3 separate regions of the Homo sapiens genome follow, and all the other regions are linked to region 1. The links are contacts of gene promoters, found by promoter capture Hi-C in blood cells and fetal thymus (Javierre and others, 2016). All regions are on one chromosome and are shown on one strand. Each heading gives the region's core, a stretch centred on a gene start or on the middle of the fragment in contact. The rest is flanking DNA. Distances are from core to core; before and after follow the strand shown. Region 1 holds the start of SP4 (Sp4 transcription factor). Region 2 holds the start of CCDC126 (coiled-coil domain containing 126). Region 3 overlaps TRA2A (transformer 2 alpha homolog).

Region 1 (3,372 bases), core at 557-3,056:
CAGTGGTATTGAAACACCAGGTCTAATTTGGACCGGAACTGTCTGATTTGCCAGGTTTTGAGCAAGAATATTCCCAGAAGCTGTCCTGTTAGCAGCTGTGAGTATAGCTTGATTATTACCTGCAGAAATGAGCTGAATTTGACCCTGCAAATCCTGTAGAGATGAACTACTAGTTGGATTGATTTGAATTTGTTGACCTTCCACTGTCTGAAGTTGTGGAATTACTTGGTACTGTACACTACCACTTGGATTTTGTACTTGTATGACTTGAAATTGACCAGGGGTGGAAGAATTACCTGATTTAGTTTTTGTAGGAGATGCACTCCCGTTATTACTGCTGGAAGAACTAGACGAACTAGAGGCTGGTTGAGAAACGTTATTCTCTTTTGAAGCAGGAGGAGTGGAGGCAACAAGTTGCCAAGCGTTTCCAGCAAGTTGCGTTGTTACCAGTTCTAGCTGTTGTGGTTGATTTTGAAGTTGCACCAATCCTTGACTTGGATCTATAATAATTTGTTGTTGTCCAGTTGCTTGATTTTCACCAGGAGTCCCTATTTTGCTGCAAGTAGCTGCCAGTAAAGCCAGAGGAGAGGGCTGAGAGTCCTACCCAAAATGGGACGGTAAAGGAGAGGGGGGGGGGAAAAAAAGTGGGCGGATTTAGTGGAGGCCAGTAGTTGCCAGGGGGTTACTTATTTTGACAGCTCTACATAACAATTTAGGAAGCAGCAGAAATCAAAAAGAAATACGAACAAAAGTAGATAAGAACTATATGAATAAGGAAGCAAGTCCTATAATATCAAGTTTAAATAAAAGGAAATTTCTTTACAACTTTGTAAAGTGTTATGTTCCTAAACTCAAAATGCCCTTGGGAACACACACACCGTTTTCTTATAGTCTGAATTCCTGATGTAATTTTAAACAGCGTTATACCCTCAAAGAGGTGAAAACTTGATGAATTTACAATTTAAGTTCCACACTCTCAGAAAGATGCTTTGAGTGGATAAACATTTTATTCTGTTACTTCTGGACATTCAAAGGGCATAACTCCCTCTCTCTCCTAATGTGTCGTGATGAATTTTTTTAATTTGTTTGCTTTTACCTGGGAGCCTGAGGTTTTGGGTTTTTTATTGTTATTCTCTGGCTCAGAGGTTTTCCCTCCTTCTGTAGCCATCGCCGCTGCCGCTGCCGCCTCCTCCTCCTCCTCCTTCTTCTGATCTGCAACAAACCCCCCCACCACACACACACGACAACAGGTTATTAGGATTATTATTATTCGTCTTCTTCCTCTCCTCTTCTCCCCCCTCCCCCCGAACATTAATCTCCATAAACCCGCGATCCACGCACACCGGCAGGGGGTGGGGGAGAAGGAGGGAAGGGAGGAGGGGGATATCACAAAACGTGGTTTGAAACCCGACCCATCGGCTCCAGAGCAACACCCAGAAGGAGGTTGTTCTCTCTCAGACATTAAGACAAAACACAACCCTCCTTCCCTCCCCGATTCCCTCCCGCCCTCTCCTCCTCCCCTTAAAGCATCTCAGCGGCCCCGGGGGAGGGGGGAGAACCGAGCAGGGTCTGGGGAGGGAGGGAGAGAGGGAGGCGGCGAAGGAGACTGAGGGGGGTGGAGAATACGTACCGCTCATCCCGCATTAACAGGACAAACCCTCAGACGGAGACACTGGGATAGAGGTGGGTGGGGGTGGGGGCGAGGCGGGAGGAGAGGCCGGTCCCGCCCGCCCGCGGTGGCTCGGAGGAGGCTGTAGCTGGCACAGGCTCTGCCTCTTTTTCCGCGAATGGCCGCCGCTGGGCTGTGGCGTAGCAGCTCCTCTCTCCGCCCGAGCCCGGCTGACTCGCCCTTGATTGACAGCGGCGGCGCGCGGCGCGGGCGGCGGCGCGGGTCGGGGGCGGGGCCAGGGCGGTGCGAGCCTGGCCGACTCCCCACCCCCCTCGGCCTCTCTCCGCCGGAGCCTCCGACTCTCCACCCCTTCCCCCAGCGGATTGGCCGCCGACCTGCCGGGGGCCGGGGCGCTGGGGCCGCCTCCTCTCCACCCCCTTTCTCGGGGTTATTCCTTTAGCAGCTCTTCTCCTCCTCCCTGGCTCCTCTGGCGCTCTTTCTCTCGGCGTTCTAGCTCAGGAGCGCTGCCGGTAGGCCCTCCATACAGCCAAACTTGTTGTCTCAGGATATCCCGCCCCCTACTCATTTCCCAGCGCCCTCCACTCAAAAACCCCCTCCAGCAATCCCTCCAATTGCCACTAAAGAAAAAAGTAGGGCCCTTGATCCAGGCAAGCGAGAGCGGCGGACGTGGGCGCGCGCGGACCACCAACAGGTCGGCGCGCTGGGTGAACTGCCCGCTGCCCCCGCGCAGGGAGCATGGCTTTCCTGAGGCGCATCCGGACCCGGGCGCCCTTTTTCCCTGGCTCTGTCTCCATTGGCTGAGCCCAGGGTGACGCGCGCTGAGTGGTGGGAGAAAGGGGGTGGGGCACTACCGCGAAGGCTGTCGGTACTCGTAGTTTCCGGCGGTCGCGGTGCCTTCTTCGAGGCACCGCCTCTCTCCCGCCCCCGACCGAGGCCTGGCTGCCGAGCGGAAAGCTGCCCGAGGGGGCGGTGGCGGCAGGGCGTGGCCGGGGCCGAGTGGGAGTTGAACTGAGCGAGGAGGAGGGGGAATGGGTGTTGTTTGCCTGGGCCTATCCGCCGCGCGGGGCTGCCCAAACCACCTCTGCCGCCGCCTCCTCGGCTCCAAGCCGCTCCCCGCGGGGCGAGCTCACACCCGGAGCGCTCGGCGATTGAGCGGGCGGCGGCGTGGGGAGGCGGGGTTTGCTGTCCTCGGGGTTTGAATGAACCCGGCTTCTTGAAGCAGCGCCCTCGCCTTGCCTTTCTTTGCTCACCTTCCCCTCAGGCCCCCTGCTTTGAGTCCGAGGCCTGTTTTCTCACGGAGAAGGATCTTCCATTTTTATTTGTTGTCTCTCTGGCTGGCAGCTGGTGCAGAGCAGTGACCCGCCTTCTAAGAAGGGTTGCATCGCGTTTTGCCTAAAAGCCTAAGTGGTTGGCGGAGTTCTAAGCCTTATCTGACAAGAGTCTCCGGGCGAAGAAAAGCCCAGCTCCATAAGGGTCAGCCCCGCTTACGGTGTAGCGTAAGCAAGCGTAAGGGCAAGTGGAATTAACATCTGGCTGCACAAAGCATCTTACTGTCAAATGCACTTGAGCAGTGTCCTGCCTCAGCTTTCCTACAAAGTCCTGAAGTCAGGATGATGCCATGGAACGTAATCAGCGCCTGATTAACTGTACCAAAGGTGGAAGTGACCCCACATGTAAATACTGGCCTTGGGAACAAGGCATGCTTACACCCCAGGCTCAAAGCCATTGTCTCACTTCTTACC
Region 2 (3,372 bases), core at 873-3,372, 2.2 Mb before region 1:
GAGTGAGAAATTATTAATCAGTGAGAAGATGCAGACAGATGTAGAAAAAAGTTGACCCAGGTTAAATATGGTGAAGCCCAGAGGCAGGACTGTAAAATACCTGGATGCCTACTCTGACGAAACAAACACTTAGCGCCTCTAAGGATTCCCAAAGGACACACCTGAGGGGGAGGGGAGAGGTGAATACTTGTACCTCTGAAGCTGATCCACAGAAAAGCAGAGTCATCAATTTCCTAAGAACATTCTCAGCCATCTTAAAACAGCAAAAATTAGGAAGACGGCATATTTTAATGAATCCTTTGGTTAGGTTTAAGATAAAGTGAAGAACACACAACCCAGGATGATTAAACAAACAAAAGCACAAAACTCAAGTCCAGAGGCCACTTCGGTCACTTCAGTCATAGCTAATGAAAGTATCACAAAGGATCTTTTCATCAAATGAAGAACTAATGACGTTATAGGTCTATATTCCTAATTCTAACCACTTACAGGTGTGTGTTTTGATGGATGAGAAAACTCAAGCTTAGAGCCTTTAAGTAACCAAGATCACCAAGGCAGGCAGTGAGAGAAACCCAGGCAGGATTCGAACCCTAGCTGGCTGAGCCATTCTCATTACCGTCACAGTCAACAATCAACACGGCAGTTTAAGTTCATCCTTACCAGTCACCCAGGAGATGAGTTTTGAAGAGGGAGTTTAAAAGGGGCATCTGACTTTCTCTCTCTCCCAAAGTAGAAGAGAACTGAGCTGTCAAAAACAGAAAAAGAAGTGAGTGCGGTGCCGCCCGGGATCTACATCCCGCAGCTCCGGACCAAGCCCGCCCCGCTCGACTCGCGCAGCCCCAGCCACGCTCGGCTCTCCGCCCGAGCCGAGGCGCCGCGGCTGTCAGACGCGGAGGGGCAGAGACGCGGCCCAAAGGAAGGGACAAAGAGCCTTCCCGGCCGCGGCCGGAGGCTGCCGGCCCGTTCCTAAGCCGGGTTTCCGCAGCAGCGGCCCTAGCGGGGCGGGGACCGGGGACGGGGGCGCGGCGGGGGAGGAGCGGCCGGCTAGGCTGAGGGGCGCGCGAGAGGTGCGGGCCCGGCTGGCGGACTCGCCCCTTACTCATTACCTGGCCGTGGGCTTCTCGTCACGGTCGCCGCCGCCACGGAGCTTCTGAGCCGGGGCGACGCAGCGAGAGCTAATAAGCGGGCGTCAGCTGCGTCCCACACTGGCGAAGCAGCCTCCAGATCGAGCTGGAGAAACGCCGGTGGGTGGGAGTTGGGACGAGGTTTGTTCCCAGCTTGTGGAGATTTTACTCCGCTCGTCCCTCGCACTCGGCTTCCGCTCCGCCTCCCTGCCGGCCCTTCCCGCACTCGGGGGCCAGCCGCCCGCGGCGCGCGGCATTGTGGGGGATGTAGTCCCAGAATGAGGAAGCGGCGGCACGTGCTTCCAGCCGCCCTGCACCTACCCTGGGTCAGAACGACGCAGCTGCGCGGCAACCAGAGAGGGCGGCGGGGTCTTCTGTGTTGGAAGATGAGCCCGCCAGAGGCATACCCTCGGCCTTAACTCGCTGCAGGCGCTGGAAGAAGGGCTCTGGCGTCTTGTTCCCGACCCTCCGGTGAGGAACCAACCTCCTAATACTATTGACCTGAGGCTGGGAAAGCTTAGTGATGATTAAGTGTGCTACAGATGAGACTACCCATTATTGAAGCCAAAGGTCCTTAGCCAGTGGAGTGAGGCAAGAAAAATAAAAGGATTGAAGATTAAATAGGAAGAAACAAAATTATTTTTTCATAGATTATGTAATTATGTACGTGGAGGCCGGGCGCCGTTGGCTCATGCCTGTAATCCCAGCAGTTTGTGAGGCCAAGACGGGAGGATCACCTGAGGTCGGGAATTCGAGACCAGCCTGGCCAACATGGTGAAACCCCGTCTCTACTACAGATACGAACTTAGCAGGGCGAGGTGGCGGACGCCTGTAATTCCAGCCTCTCGGGGAGCTGAGGCGGGAGAATTGCTTGAACCCAGGAGGCGGAGGTTGCAGTGAGCTGATATCGCGCCACTGCACTCCAGCCTGGGCAACAAGAGCAGAACTCCGTCTCAAAAAAAAAAAAAAATTGTTTGTGGCACTTCAAAACAATCTGCAGATAAACTGTTAACAATAAAAGTTTTTAACAAGGTTAATAGATACAAAAATCATATTTTAAAAAATCAATATTTATTTATATATGCTAGTAAAAAAGATAATTTTTTTAAAGATACCATTTCCAACAGCTCCAAACAAATATCAAGTACCTAGGAATAAATCGATCAAAGAAATGCAAAACCTGCCTGAAGAAAACATTGGAAGACACTGAAGAAGACCTAAATAAAGATGTAACATGTTCATAAATTGGAAGAGTCAATACTGAAAAATGCCAAGTCTCTCCAAACCTACCTACAGAGCCAGTGCAATTCCCAACAAAATCTCAATAAATTTCTGTGTATGTGTGAGAAACTTGACAAGCTAATTCAAAATGTTATGGAAGAGCAAAGACAAGCATTCATGAGGAAGAGGAGGAAGAAAAAAAAAGAAGAGGAGAAGGAGTGGGAGGAGGAAAACTTGTGCTACCGGATAACAAGCTTTATTATAGACTAGGCACGGTGGCCCATGCCTATGATCTCAGCACTTCGGGAGGCTGAGGCAAGTGGATTGCTTGAGCCTGGAGTTCAAGACCAGCCTGGGCAACATGGCAAAACCCCATCTGTACCCCCCAAAAAAATACCAAAGTCAGCCAGTTGTGGTGGCATGCACCTATAGTCCCTGCTACTCAAGAGGCTGGGGGCAGGAGGATCACTTTGAGCCCAGGAGGTGGAGTCTGCAGTGAGCCATAATTGTGCCACTGCACTCCAGCCTGGGCGACAGCAAGCCTCTTCCTCAAAAACAAAACAAAACAAAACAAAAACAAGCTTTATTTTAAAGCTGTCAACCTAAATAATAGGACCTCTAAAAGAAAAAGACACTCACTTAAGAATAGGGCATTGCAATGGGAATATACATGCCACAGTAAACTCTGTGTGTATTCAGGGAGGTAAAGGAAGACAAAGAAAAAATGAGGAGGATTAAATAATTGCTTTGAAATTATTATGCTTGGCTACAAGGATCAATAATAAGGGTGACTCCAGTTCTAGGTTCAACAGGCAGTTGCTGGGCAGATGTCCACACAGAAGTACTTGTTGTGTAAGGTTGCAGTGGTCTTTATGTAAGGTTGTGGTTTTTGCAGAGTCTTTTGCAATAGTTTAGTTATCAGGTATACACATGTGAAAGCCTTCCCTTCTTAGCCTTCCCCAGCTCTGTCAGGGTGTTTTGTTTTTAACACAAGTGACTCCATTTTGATTCTGACAATTTTCACATT
Region 3 (3,372 bases), core at 272-2,771, 2.1 Mb before region 1:
AATAGTTACCCGGTAGACTAAAAAATTTGCCTTTAATTCTTTTGATTGGAATTTTTTTTTACAAAGTTTGGAGCATGGAAACAAATGAAAATTGAACCTGCTTATTTTTTAGGATGGTGTATTGATGGCCCCAACAGAACTTTCTAAAATCATGCGATAAACATATATGATAGTAGTTGTAAAATGCTTCTTGTTTTGAAAATGTTGAGTAATTATCGATAGAAATTTTGCTGTCCATTCATACATTCCTTCAATTAACTTTCATTGTTAAAAAATTGGGGGATTGATGTTTGGTTTGGTTTGTGGGGAGTGAAGAGGACTACTGGAGGGACCTTGTTTGCTTGCTTTTTTTCTTTTTTTAATTTATCATCAAGTCTAGGAAAGGAGTAAGTTGCCGACAATTGTCACTTTTCCCTCCTAAGAAAGTAACATGTTAAGATTCCCACCTACCAGCCTGGGTGACAGTGAGACTCCCGTCTCAAAAAAAAAAAAAAAGATTCCCACCCACTTTTAAGCTAAAGTATATGTAGGCATTAAAGATTTATTTAATAGAAATAAAGGGCCCTCTTACGGCCCTTTGTGGTCATAGGAAATATTTTTTTCACAAGTGGTACCCAAGTGTATTTTAGTGTAAATCAACTAGTGCTTGTAGGCTCACCTGTTGTATCTTTTTATTTTTCGTCTTTTAGTTTTTATAGGATGAGATAATTGTCTTTATTTGTAATTGGTTAAAGAATTAGAACAATGCGAGAAGCTTGTCTGGAGATGCCCTTTTTAAAATCGTTTCTGGCCGGGCGCAGTGGCTCACGCCTGTAATCCAACAATTTTTGGGAGGCTGAGGCGGGTGGATTACTTGAGGTTAGGAGTTCGAGACTAGCCTGCCCAACGTGGTGAAACCCTGTCTCTACTAAAAATACAAAATTAGCCGGGCGTGGTGGCGTGCGCCTGTGATCACAGCTACTTAGGAGGCTGAGGCAGGAGAATTACTTGAACCTGGGAGGCGGAATTGCGCCACGACACTCCAGTCTAGGCAACAGAATGAGACTCTTGTCTCAAAAATAAGTAAATACGTAGGTCCATAAAAGCAATTTTAAGTGGAGATGTCCTTTGGAGCTGGGAGTGAAGGTAGCACTTAAGCGGTGGCTTTGCATGTCTTGATAAAAGTAATGAGTTGTTTGCCTCAATACAGCTTCAACTAAAATTCGGATTTTGAGCTCAAAAAATGTTAATGCCCTTCATAGAAATTAAGGGGAATGGAAATCTTTTCTTAACATTTTACACCTCTACCCCTAAAATTTTAAGAACTGTACTTTATAAAAATGTGCAATTTTCATACAGCATCCCAGTGTTGATCATGGAGGTTAATGATTCTTTATTGTTAGGGACCTATCTTGTAATTCCAGAGTTATTTATGTTTTCTACAGTTGAAGAGGAAAAATACCGCTTCTTATTGCCTCCTTTTCAGGATTTCTTCTGGCTTCTTGAGTAGCTGGAGTATTTTTGAGAGACTCCTACAGGCCCTGCGGGGTGGCACATGCCTGTAATCCTAGCTACTTAGGAGGCTGAGGTGGGAGAATTGCTTAAACCCGGGAGGCAGAGGTTGCAGTGAGCCGAGATCGCATCACTGCACTCCAGCCTGGGCGACAGAGCAAGACTCTGTCTCGAAAAAAAAAAAGGCAAACAAATTTATCTGTATCAATTTGGAATTAAAAGATTTGTGTGTATAGATTTTTTGTTAAAAATAGAAGAAATAGGGGGAGGGTCCTTTTCTGAAATCTGAGAATGATAGGGATGATGACTATCAAAACCCAGGCCTGTGACTGGCTTGTTTAAAAACAAAACAAGGCCGGCCCGGTGGCTCACGCCTGTAATCCCAGCGCTTTGGGAGGCTGAGGCGGGCGGATCACAAGGTCAAGAGATGGAGACCATCCTGGCCAATATGGTGAAATACAGTCTCTACTAAAAATACAAAAATTAGCTGGGCGTGGTGGCGCGCGTCTGTAGTCCCAGCTACTCGGGAGGGTGAGGCAGAGAATCACTTGAACCCGGGAGGCGGAGGTTGCAGTGAGCCGAGGTCGGCCACTGCACTCCAGCCTGGCAATAGAGCGAGACTCGTCTCAAAAACAAAACAAAAAAAAACACAGAACTTTTAAATTGGGCTTAAAATTTTTTTGTGTATGAAGTTTTAAGATAAATGTGAGAGATGTCATAGCATTTTGCTTATTCAGCGTCTTTAGCAATTTAATTCCATATATCATCAAATTGACCTTACATAAGGGTAAAGCTTTCTTTCTTATAGTAGGGATAGTGTTAACCTAAGAGAGTCTTGGGTTTAATCTATTTTCCTAAATTTAAGTACTATCATTTATCTGATTTTAATGCTTTCAGTTGTTCTCCTCTCCCCTTCCATTTAAGCAAAGAATTTGTAAACTTAAAAAAAATTAAAATCTCAAATTTTTATATTTGAGGTTCTTTCACTGAAGGATGTTGATCTGCTCAATATAAGTAGAGGGCAAGATTTTGAAAAGGAGCAGTGCAAGTAATTATACCCACAGCGCATAACTAATTTTACAGATCTGTCATAGAGGCTTATACTTTGTACCACTCATTAAATGGAATATAGAACCTTGAGATCTGAAAGAATGTCCAGGGATTTAAATATTTAGGGATGTGTGGTTTGGAAAACACTTTGTCTGTGGGCTTAATTTTGTAAATCAACCAAACTCTAACCTACGATGTAGCATGTGTATTATAAGAAGTGTGAAATGTCATCAATAATCAGCATAGTAGTTTCCTAGAACTTGACTGGCAGAAAACTTTCTTTGATAGTATCAGTGGGTGCTCACCCATTAGATAACTAAAAGATGTGTATTCACGTGCTAATGAATTAAAACTGATTGCTATTTGTTCATATGTCCTCACAAATTTAGCAAGACAGGCATGGAGGTGAAAAAAATAGTAACAACTAGATGAGGGAAAGATTGTATACACTGAAGAAAAGTTGAGAGGAGAATACTAAAGGGAAATATGGTTTCCCTTCCCTCCTTTTAAGTTACTTATATATATAGTTATATATAATCCTTACTGTCCCATGACTTTCACCAAAGATGGAGTGACTAGGCCTGACTGATATGTAGAAGAAAAGTTGTGATCTTTCCTTGAAACCAGGACCCTATCATCTGACTTACCAAGATTCATAAATACTGTATAACTCCAGAAGATTAGAACATAATGTTAAATCACATTAGTCCTTACAAACTTGTTTTTTCTACCTTTGAAATTGCCACTTATACATTAGTTTTTTGAACATTACAATTGATCAGGATATATAAGCTATGAGACTTATGAACCACGTTTAAAATTTGTACAAAA

Evidence for each region. The method cuts DNA at HindIII sites, captures the fragments that hold promoters and counts their contacts. A CHiCAGO score of 5 or more calls a contact.
Region 2: a fragment that was not itself captured here is called in contact with the fragment with the promoter of SP4 in region 1 in 1 of 17 cell types (total CD8 T cells); the score reaches 5.3 in total CD8 T cells.
Region 3: a contact is called between a fragment that was not itself captured here and the fragment with the promoter of SP4 in region 1, in 1 of 17 cell types (neutrophils). The highest score is 7.3, in neutrophils.

The regions. Positions count from the first base shown.
Region 1 is chr7:21,426,517-21,429,888 of GRCh38, reverse strand. It overlaps SP4 (Sp4 transcription factor), which reads right to left and starts at 1,806. Exons shown (of 6, transcript NM_003112.5): 1 at 1,631-1,806; 2 at 1,097-1,212; 3 at 1-600. The coding sequence starts at 1,637. RefSeq lists silencers at 1,513-2,102, 2,483-2,872. The HindIII fragment of the contact is 8,073 bases long and covers 1-3,372 here.
Region 2 is chr7:23,595,340-23,598,711 of GRCh38, reverse strand. It overlaps CCDC126 (coiled-coil domain containing 126), which reads right to left and starts at 1,330. Exons shown (of 4, transcript NM_138771.4): 1 at 1,107-1,330; 2 at 661-745. LOC105375187 (a long non-coding RNA gene) reads left to right here and starts at 1,387. Exons shown (of 2, transcript XR_927098.2): 1 at 1,387-1,595. RefSeq lists a silencer at 849-1,088. The HindIII fragment of the contact is 959 bases long and covers 1,643-2,601 here.
Region 3 is chr7:23,526,977-23,530,348 of GRCh38, reverse strand. All of the region lies in intron 1 of TRA2A (transformer 2 alpha homolog), which reads left to right. Among named protein-coding and RNA genes, the nearest start is that of TRA2A, 3.3 kb to the left of the region's middle. The HindIII fragment of the contact is 1,530 bases long and covers 757-2,286 here.